Regions from separate parts of the Homo sapiens genome. Here region 2 is linked to region 1. The links are contacts of gene promoters, found by promoter capture Hi-C in human tissues and cell types (Jung and others, 2019). All regions are on one chromosome and are shown on one strand. The core of a region is centred on a gene start or on the middle of the fragment in contact, and the rest is flanking DNA. Distances in the headings are between cores, read along the strand shown. Region 1 holds the start of SETD1A (SET domain containing 1A, histone lysine methyltransferase). Region 2 holds the start of ZNF771 (zinc finger protein 771).

Region 1 (5,230 bases), core at 1,186-3,685:
CAGAGGAGAAACTGAGGCAAGAACGAAGGCAAGGAGACCAGGTGAAATGAATACCAAGGTCTACATTAAGTGGCAATGAGAATAGAAAGATGAAGAATAAAAAAGAAAAGAGCCAGGAGGATTCGGTGACCAACTGAGAGAGAAAAGGAGAGAATCACAGGCTGCCAGGCTGTACAGCTGAGTCGATGGTACTGCCACATATGAGTAGAGGGAAAATGAAAAAGGTAGGTTAAGGAGGTAGATAATTTGTTTTAAATCCCTTAAATCTGAAACATGTGTGGCCTCCAAATGAAACTGTCCCCCTACCAGGCATACAAGCCTAGAGATGTTGGCTGGAAACAGATACTTGGAAGTCATCAACATTTAGGTAATAGTTGAAGCTGTGGGTGTGAAAGAGATTGTCCAAGTGAAGTGTACAAAGTAAAAAAAAAAAAAAGAAGAAGAAGAATGAAGGGACCCCACAAACAATTTATTTAGAAAGGAAGAATAAAGAATCAGAGAAGGAAATGAAGAACCACCAGTGTTCCAGGCCCAGTTCAAGGCCTGAAGAATATCTTGTCTAGGGTGGAGAATAGGAGTCCTCGAAGGAAACAAGAGGGAAATGACATCGCCAAATGAGAGGCGGGGAATAGTGCTACCCAGGTAGGCAGTGGCCTTGTCACTCCCCTTGACTGTCAAGGAACTGGGAGATCCCACTCTTGTGTGCTATGATGCACTGTCTACGAATATACAGTGATAGGTATAGCAGCTAAAGAGTCTTTACCTCACCCTTCAAGAAGTCGACACCCCAGCCACCAGGGATACACTTAGGACACCTGACCTGCACCTTTCTGGAAGATTAAGTGTACCTCCTATCCAAAACAACTGAGTCTCACAGCCTCAGAGGTTGCTAGATCTGGCTGAGATCCTTTCATTGGAAACCCTTTTATTCAGCTATAGTGCCAAGACGCATCCTCCACACCCTCTTAGGACTACCACACCAGGAGCCCAGCAGACACTTACCTTAAACTTAGGGACTGGGAGGGAAAAGTCTCTGTTTTTGGACCTGACATGGCAACGGGGGTCTTGGAGGTCTTCGACTGGTATATACTTTGAGTCCTAGGAAGGAAAGCAGCAGCAGAAAGAGAGCTCAGGGTGAATCCAGGCTAGGGAGCTCCAAGCAGCCCATCTGGACACACACATGCAGAAGAGCTGGGTCCAACTGCCCACTTTCAAGAAGGCAGGCTACCGTTCTAGGTGCTGAACAGAATCACAGAGGACGGGCGCCTGGAGCTCCCCGGATGGCAACCAAAGACCCGGGCACTCACGTTGACACTGAAGTGGACTCCATCATAGCGGTACACCTTCTGAGAAGGCCTGCGCAGGGCAGGGTCCAAGGCAGGATCCACGATGAGCTTGTAGTTCCGCCACTGGAAGCTCGGGGCCTTCTGCCCATCTCCCCCACCTTCCTGATCCATCTTTGCTCATTTACACTGTTAGGGGAAGAGGGACACGCAAGAAGGATCAGGACTTGGGGCCTGACTCCCCTGCCTTTCCTCATTGGCTAGCCCCGATTCCAGGTTCTCCCATCACTCCAGTTTCCAACCCTCACCCTGACCCGGGGCTCCCCCGGATTCTCCCCCAAGTACCCTCTGTTTCGCCACAACAACCCAGCCTCTTTCCACCTCCCAACTCTACTGTCAGGCCCCCAGGCCCGTCTCGAGCCCCCTTACCTTCCCGCTCTCCCTAGCGCGCGCCCCACTTGGCCTCGGAGCAAGACCCCTCCCCCGCCCCCTGCAGGCCCCGCCCCCTCCCGCCTCCTCACCGGCCAGCGGCCCGGGCCGAGCCCGGCCACGGCTCCCACACACCCGCTCTCCTCCCCGCGCCCCGATCCTCCGGCCGAAAGGTGGCACCTCTTCGGGGCGTTGGAAACACCGCGAGACCGAGCCCGAGACCCGGCTTCGACCCCGAATCCGGGCGGGGGGGTGGGGGGAACGTGCACCGCTGCCCTCTCCTCCCGCCCCGGCGCGTTCTGCACCCCCCCCAGCAGGTCTCCGCGCACGCGCGCCGCGCGGCCCCACTCACCCGCTCCCGGCGAGCGGCTCCCCCTCCCCCCACCTCGCGCGGCACCTCAGCGGCGCGAGGCGGCGGCAGCGGCAGCGCGAGACCCGGCCCCGCAGCGGTGGCGGCGGCGGCGCCCCCCCACCACCACCTCCCCGGCGCGCGCACCAAACACCACTGCCACCTGCGCGAGGCCCAGCGGGCACAGGGTCTGCATTCGCACTTTCGCCACAGGCGCTGCCGGGGGACCCACGGGGCCGAGGGTAGCGGCTTCGCCTCGGCCGGCGCCCTGGGAGGCTCGGAAGTTGCGGCCCAGGGAGCTTGGAGATTGGCCGCATCCCCCGGAGAGTCGGCTTCGCCACGACGATCTAGATGCTGCGGCCCGGGACCTTGACGAATCGGCGGCGACGAAAGCTGCGACTAGTCCCTGAGGAAAAGGGGCGGGGCGGAGGGGAGGAGGCCAGCCAGCGCTGGGGAACCTTCAGTGGCGCGTTCTGCAGACGCAGATTCACCGGGCGGGCGGGGCGAATCGCTGGACAGGATGCGCGCCGCTTTGCTTCTCTTCCCCGTCCCTTCCTTGCACTGCCAAATTCTGAGAGGCTGCAGATTCGCCACTGTTCCCGGCCTCAGCCGTAGCCTCCCCTTCATCCGCCTTGGTGGAGTCAAGAAAATAACGGCCCGTTAGCCAATCCCTGCTGGCAGAGTCGACAACTTTTTTTGGATTTTTCTTACTGGCCCAAGTGAGAGAATAGCCCGCTTCTGTCCCTGGGGAAAATGCCTCCAGCCCAGCGCTCCTCTCAGAGTCCGATGAGAATTTTCAGCCGAGTATCGAGGGACCCGAGGAATTCTGAGGATCCGACCTGGCGAATCTGCGGATTCCGCTGTGGGCGGGGCCGAGTCAAGGGGCGGGGCCAGGGCGTGCAGAGCCTGGGACTAGGGGGCGCCTCCGGGAGGACCCACGAGGACTCACCCGGATGGGAGGGACGGCCGGGAGGTGGAAAAACACAACCGTGAGCGGTGACTCAGGCGGTTTGCCCCGCCTCGCACATAAATGCAGGGTACCTTTCCTTCCCGTTATTGCCCTTGGGTGTCTGGCTGCTTAGGATGCCCATTTGCCAGATGGGGAGAGTGAGGCCTGTAGAAGGTGCCCTACTTTGCCGTACTCAAACCCACCATTAGTGGTTAAATCCAGGGACCGCCTCAAGGTTTTCTGATGAGCCTAGTGGGGCCTAAGTGCCCTTAAATGGGCCTTGTAATAATAAACGAGGTCCTACAGGAACGGGACTGGACTGGTGTGTCCTCCTGGCGTCATGGTCCCACTGCCCGCTTCTTTGGCTATGGCGCCCTATGCTCACGGGATGCCTCCGCACAAGGGCAGCAGCGGCCCAGGCCTACCCCTGGAACTCGGGCTGAGGTTTCTGAAGGCTGGGCACCGTTTTGATCCCGTGTGGGCGCAGGCACTCCCAGGAGGTCCCTTTTCCTGAGCTGAGGATGCCCCAAGCTCCTGATATGTGTACATCAGGCCCTCGCTATATGGCCTTGGGCAAGTCATTGACCTAAGTTTCAGAGTCTTCCTTTAAACTTGGATGTCAATTTGTACACATCCGAACAGTGCAGAAAAGACCCTTAGAGCCTGGTTTATGCAAATTCACCATTTTAAGTAATAGGAAAAGGTGGAAGGGAGACTTATCCAAGGTCTCACACCACAAGATAGAAGAAGATTAGGACTCTACAATTTTGAGGGAAATAAGGCTGAAAAAAATAATTTACGTGGAGGCATAGGTGTTGAGATCAGATTCCTTTCTGTTCCAGTTGAAAGGCACTGGTTCCTTTTCTCAAATCAAAGAGAGATTCCCGTGTGAGGGGTAGATAGTCCAAGTTCAGTTTCATGGACTAGCTGTGTGGTTTTGGGCAAGATCTTCAGCCTTCTTGGGCCTGTTTCCTTATCTCTGAAATGAAAATGATAAAGACTTAACGCTTAAGGTGTTGTGAGAGTTAAATAAGATAACCTATGAAAGTCCCCTAGTATGTGGTAGTTGCTCAAGAAAGAAACTTGAGGCCAGGTGCAGTGGCTAACACTTGTAATCTCAGCACTTTGGGAGGCCAAGGTGGGAGGATCACTTGAGCCCAGGAGTTCAAGACCAGCCTGGACAACATAGTGAGACCCTCCTCTCTACAAAAAAAAAAAAAAATTAATTAGCTGGGTTGGTGGGACGTCCTGTGGTGCCAGCTATTTGGGAGGCTGAGGTGGGAGGCTCATGAGCCTGGGAGGTCAAAGCTGCAGTGAGCCAAGATTGCACAGCTGCACTCCAGCCTGGGCAAAAGAGTGAGACTGTCTCGGCTGGGCGCGATGGCTCACACCTGTAATCCCAGCACTTTGGGAGGCCAAGGCAGGGGGATCACTAGGTCAGGAGATCAAGACCATCCTGGCTAACACGGTGAAACCCCATCTCTACTAAAAATACAAAAACAAAATTAGCCGAGCGTGGTGGTGGGCACCTGTAATCCCAGCTACTTGGGAGGCTGAGGCAGGAGAATGGCGTGAACCCAGGAGGCGGCGCTTGCAGTGAGCCGAGATCATGCCACTGTACTCCAGCCTGGGCGACAGTGCAAGACAGAGCGAGACTCGGTCTCAAAAAAAAAAAAAAAAAAAGAGTGCTTATACTAAACACTCAGGGAGGGCTGGGTGTGGTGGCTCATGCCTGTAATCCCAGCACTTCGGGAGGCCAGACAGGTGGATCACCTGAGGTCAGAAGTTTGAGACCAGCTTGGCCAACATGGCGAAACCCCGTCTCTAATAAAAATATAAAAATTAGCCGGGTGTGGCGGCACACACTTGTAATCCCAGCTACTCTGGTGGCTGAGGCAGGAGAATTGCTTGAACTTGGGAGACGGAGGTTACAGTGAGCTGAGATCGCACCACTGCACTCCAGCCTGGGCAACACAAGACTCCGTCTCTAAATAAATAAATACTCAGTGGAAGAGATAGAGACTCTGAACTCAGGGACAAGAGTTCAAAGCCTGTAGCCTTGGAATAACTCTCCCCATTCAGAAGCTGTTGGCCCTTGTTAGCATCTGACAGGGTTACACCTGAAACCCACTCCCCTCCCAGGTCCTGTCCACCCAAACTTGCCACCACCCGGCTCTTGGGAACAAGTAAAGTTATCCTAAGAAGGCCTGCCCTGCATCC
Region 2 (5,230 bases), core at 1,949-4,448, 550 kb after region 1:
AAGTGATCCTCCCACCTTGGCTTTCCAAAGTGCTAGGATTACAGGTGTGAGCCACCACGCCTGGCTCTTCCCATGATTTAAGGCTTCTTATGGTGCCACAGAACCTAACACAGTACGTCCTGCCCTAGCTTGCAAGGCCCCTCTGTCCCCCAACTGCCTTTCCAGTCTCATTTCCTCTGAGTCTTTGTTTTTGCTGTTTCCTCCTCCTGGAATGCCCTTCCTCCTCCTCCATGTGCCAAACCCCTGCAAAGCCTTCAAGGCCCAAGTCAAAAATCATCTCCTCTGGGAAGCCTTCCCCACTGCCTTGAGTCGTTTGTCTTCAATCCTCTGTGCCCCCACATTCACTTCCCTGATCAACCCCAGTTCTCATGGTTCAGCCCAGGCCTTTGATAAAAATGAGTTGAGCCAGGCGTGGTGGCTCACGCCTGTAATCCCAACACTTTGGGAGGCCGAGGCGGGCGGATCATGAGGTCAGGAGTTCGAGACCAGCCTGACCAATATGGTGAAACCCCACCTCTACTAAAAATACAAAAATTAGCTGGGCATGGTAGTGCGCACCTATAATCCCAGCTACTCAGGAGACTGAGGCAGGAGAATGGCATGAACCCGGTAGGTGGAGGTGCGGTGAACCAAGATTGCGCCACTGCACTCCAGCCTGGGCGACATAGTGAGACTCCGTCTCAAAAAAAAAAAAAAAAGTTGAAAAATCTCAAGAAGGATGACCTTGCCCAAGGTCCTGAGCTTTGGGGAGAAGAATAAATGTAACAGCAACTATTTCCGTGTTTATTTTGTGCCAGACACAGTTCTAACTCTGTGCATGTGTTGACTCATTCATTCCTCACAACTCCAAGATGTAGGTGCTGTTATAATTTCCCTTTTACAAATGAGGAAACTGAGGCGTGGAGCGGTTAGGAAACTTGGCCAAGGTCACACAGCGGGTAAATGATGGAGCTGGAAGTCCACCCTAAGCTCTGGAGCCTGTGTTTGTAACTTAGAGGCCAAAGGTGGAGATCAGGCAATCGCAGGGCCAGAAGAGGCAGGCAGAGCTGGATAATGGGCGAAGGGGGCCCGCAACAAACACAACCAGATAGTTATTAGACTATCCAGAGGCCTAAGGAGCTAGTCCCCTCCCCCAGCACCCAGCAGGCCCACTAGGGGGCAGCAGAGCATTCTTTCCCTGGGAACTGGCTCCTGGGCAGGAAGAATCAGAGTCCCGGCCCCTGCAAGCTGGGTCCCTGGGGCCAAAGCCCTCTGCTGGTACTCAGGGCTGCTCAGGCTGGGGGCAGACAGAATCCTCTGGGGTTCTGAGAAGCGGAAACGTATCTGGTGGCAGTTAGGGTCTCCAGGGGGTGAAATTTAACTCATATTCTGATCTCAAAACCTTCAAATACCCTCAGAATAAAAGCCAGACTCCCTGTGTGGCCTGCCAACCACCCCCACTCATCCACACTACAGCATGACCGAACCACCCACCCTCACTGCTGCAGTGCACTACTCACTCGTCTGAGCCTCTATAAGGGCCATTTCTGGCTGGATACGGTGGCTCACACCTATAATCCCAGCACTTTGGGAGGCTGAGGTGGGAGGATCACCTGAACTCAGGAGTTTGAGACCAGTCTGGCCAACATGGCAAAACCCCAACTCTACTGAAAATACAAAAAATTAGCCGGGCGTGGTGGTGCATGCCTGTAATCCCAGCTTCTTGGGAGGCTGAGGTAGGAGAACCACTTGAACCCGGGAGGTGGAGGCTGCAGTGAGCCGAGATCACGCCACTGCACTCCAGCCTGGGCAACAGAGCGAAACTCTGTCTCAAAACAAAACAAAAAAAAATTAGCCAGGTGTAGTGGTGCATGCCTGTAGTCCCAGCTACTTGGGAGGCTGAGGTGGGAGGATCACCTGAGCCCAGGGAAGTCAAGGCTGCAGTGAGCTGTACTGCACTACAGCTTGGGTGACTGAATGAGACCCTGTCTCAAACAATAACAACAGTAATAATAAAAGAGCCATTTCCTCTGACTGGGTCCATCACCCCACTTCTGACCCCAGACTCCTACTAGTCTCACATAAGCCATCCTTTTACTTTGAGACCTGTGGCCAGTTACCAAACTGCCCTGGGCCTCAGTCTCCTCATCTGTAAAATGGAATAAATGCTACCGACATCATAGAATCGAGGTGCTTAGAACAGTGCCTGGCACATAGAAAATGCTAGGCAAGGGTTAGCTATTGTTACTGTTGCTGTTGAACTAACCTGACCTTTCCCCAACCTCTAAATCTGAGTTAAGTTCCCACTTCTAGGCTTCATCATCCCCCTGTACCTGCAGCCATCACACGGGATTCTAACTGTGTGGTTACCCTTCAGTCTAACATCAAGCTCCATGGGGGATCCAAGGACGGAGTTTAATCTCCTGCACCCAGCAGGAAGCCTGGGACAGTAGGCGTGACTTTTGTATGATGGAAGCCCAGGCAGTAGGGCAGAAGGATGGGCCAATCCTGAGGTTTTAGATCCGAGATTCTGGGAAAAGTAGGGGCAAGATCCCTGGCTTCTATCTGAGGGAGGCTGGGCCTGGACCAGGTTTGGGGACAGTGTGCCCCAGGGTGTGTGTGACACATACCTCCTTGTTGTCCATGGGGATCTTGAGTTTCACCACCTCATACTTCTCCTCACCCTCATCCTCCTCACCCTTCACCAGCAGCACCATCTCCTCCTGCATCTCTTCCTCCTCCTCTTCCTCTGCCTGCTGTTCGCCAGGCATCTTGGTGTCCTGAGGCGGGGAGCTGGATCAGAAGCTCAGGACCCGCCCCCCCCCACCCCCCCCCCCGCCCACCGTGGCCCTGGCCCAGCAAGGCAGTGCAGCCGTGGCTTCTCCCGCCCTGCCCTGGTCTCCGAATCTGGTCCTCTCCCGTCCACCCCAGCCCGGCCCCACGCTCTGGCACAGCCCCGGGACCAGCTCCGAGGGCTCGCGTTCACCCCACTCATCCCAGCATTCAAGGCCTTGAACAGTTCGAATCTCCAGCCCCCGCAAGTCGCCACCATCCTTGCGCTGAGTCACTCCCCAGGGCCCGGGTCGGCGACCTGGAGCTCTGGGGCACGGGCTGGAGGCGGGATCGGGGCGGAAACCCCGGGGAGGGGGTGCGCACTCACCAGCCGAAGGTTCGGCACTCGCGGTGCCCCAGGCCTGGGCGCCGGGCGGCTGGGCACTCAGCGAGGCCGCGGCTCCGGGGGCGGGGAGGGGGCGGGACCGCAGGGACGGCCGGTCATTGGTCCGAACATATAGCCCCACCCCCTGGGGCGGAGCCCGAAGGACCCAGGCGTCCGGCCCAAACGGCTCGGAGAGGGCGGCGAGCTCAGACTTGGCGTCCTCCGCAGTCCCCCGACTCCCAAGCACCTGGAGCCGCCCCAGCCCGGCGTTCAAGGTCCTTGCCGCCGAGTTCCAACCTAACCTCGCGGCCCGTCTCCTGGGGCCGGCTTGGAGGTCTCCGCTGCGCCCAGTGCCTCTGCTCCGCCCGAAATAGGCCACGTGCGCTCCCGCCCCGGCCTGGGCCTCTCCCTGGCGCCCCGCCTGGAGGGCGGACCCTGTTGCCTCCTCACTTCTTCCATTCCCTCTTTATCTCCTCTGCCGTCTTTTCTCCATCTTTCTCGGCTTCGCCTATTCCGCTGGCCTCTGGGATATCCTTGAATACATCCTAACCAATTCAACATCCACCCAAGCTACCGCTGTCGCGTCATGCGTGGGGTGCTTACCATGCGCCAGCGCTGTTCAGCGTCTTACATACCTGGTCTCATTTGATCCGCATAACGATGGGTCCTGATCCATTTTACAGATGAGCTCACTGAAGTTCAGGGAGGTAAACTGATTTGCCTAAGTTACACGATAAGGATGTCATAGCATCCCTGACAATCAGTAGCCTAGGTGAACAACAGCCCAAAGCTAAATCCAGTCCACAGGGGTACCTTGTTTGGCCCTTAGGGTATTTTTACTTTTAAAAAATCTTTTCGGACGGGCACGGCGGCTCACGCCTGTAATCCCAGCACTTTAGGAGGCCGAGGCGGGCGGATCACGAGGTCAGGAGATAGAGACCATCCTGGCTAACACGGTGAAACCCCGACTCTACTAAACAAAATACAAAAAATTAGCTGGGCGTGGTGGCGGGCACCTGTAGTGCCAGCTACTCGGGAGGCTGAGACAGGAGAATGGCGTGAACCCGGGAGGCGAGCTTGCAGTTAGCCGAGATCGCGCCACTGCGCTCCAGCCTGGGCGACAGAGCGAGACTCCGTCTCAAAAAAAAAAAAAAAAAAAAAAAAAAAAAATCGTTTCAAAGCCGGGCGCGGTGGCTCATGCCTGTAATCCCAGCACTTTGGGAGGCGGAGGCCGGTGGATCACTTGAGGTCAGGATTTCGAGACCAGCCTAACCAACATGGTGAAACCCCGTCTCTACTAAAAATACAAAAATTAGCCAAGCTTGGTGGTGCATGCCTGTAATCCCAGCTACTCGAGAGGCTGAGGCACGAGAATTGCTTGAACTGGGGAGGCAGTGGTTGCAGTGAGCCGAGATCATGCCATTGGTCTCCAGCCTAGGCAACAAGAGCGAAACTCCGTCTCAAGAAAAAAAAAATTAAATTGGGATATTTCATATAAAAATAGATTTTTTTTTAGTGGAATAAACAAATGCCACTTCCTTTGAAAAACAGCCACTTCCCTTGAAAAAGCAGATATCTAATTTTCCCATTTTATGAATGGGGCAACTAAGATTCAGAAATCATGAAGGAAAACAGAAATAACATTCAGTAAGTGCTTACAAGTTCTATGTTGTCTCTTTACAACAGCCCTGTTGGGATCAATAATATCTCCATTGGACAAAAGAAGAAACGGAAGCTTAGACAAGTTAAGTAATTTGCTCAAAGTCACACAGCTGGCAAGCAGCAGATTCAAAGCTTGTGCTCTTCTATTGCACCAAATTACCTCTCAGGAATGAAGTTATAAAACTGGCTCTTTCCCAGAGCTGGGAGAAGGGGTCAAATGCCTGGATACTCACACACAGGATCCCCAAAAGCCACTTTGCATTCATTCTCTGAGTTTTTTTTTTTTTTTTTTTTTTTTTTTGAGATGGAGTCTTGCTCTGTCGCCCAGGTTGGAGTGCAATAGCACAGTCTAGGCTCACTGCAACCTCCGCTTCCCAGGTTCAAGTGATTCTCCTGCCTCAGCCTCCCAAGTAGCTAGGATTACAGGCACAC

The links. The method cuts DNA at HindIII sites, captures the fragments that hold promoters and counts their contacts. A contact is called where the count stands out against the background at its distance.
Region 2: a contact is called between the fragment with the promoter of ZNF771 here and the fragment with the promoter of SETD1A in region 1, in 1 of the 25 tissues and cell types used here (aorta).

The regions. Positions count from the first base shown.
Region 1 is chr16:30,954,959-30,960,188 of GRCh38, reverse strand. SETD1A (SET domain containing 1A, histone lysine methyltransferase) reads right to left here and starts at 2,435. Exons shown (of 19, transcript NM_014712.3): 1 at 2,225-2,435; 2 at 1,308-1,472; 3 at 1,003-1,098. The coding sequence starts at 1,457. RefSeq lists silencers at 1,727-1,816, 1,957-2,176 and enhancers at 2,777-2,906, 2,364-3,127. The HindIII fragment of the contact is 8,587 bases long and covers 1-3,352 here.
Region 2 is chr16:30,405,574-30,410,803 of GRCh38, reverse strand. ZNF771 (zinc finger protein 771) reads right to left here and starts at 3,198. Exons shown (of 3, transcript NM_001142305.2): 1 at 3,140-3,198; 2 at 2,610-2,759. The coding sequence starts at 2,750. RefSeq lists silencers at 1,139-1,228, 3,063-3,272, 3,295-3,474. The HindIII fragment of the contact is 10,608 bases long and covers 1-4,664 here.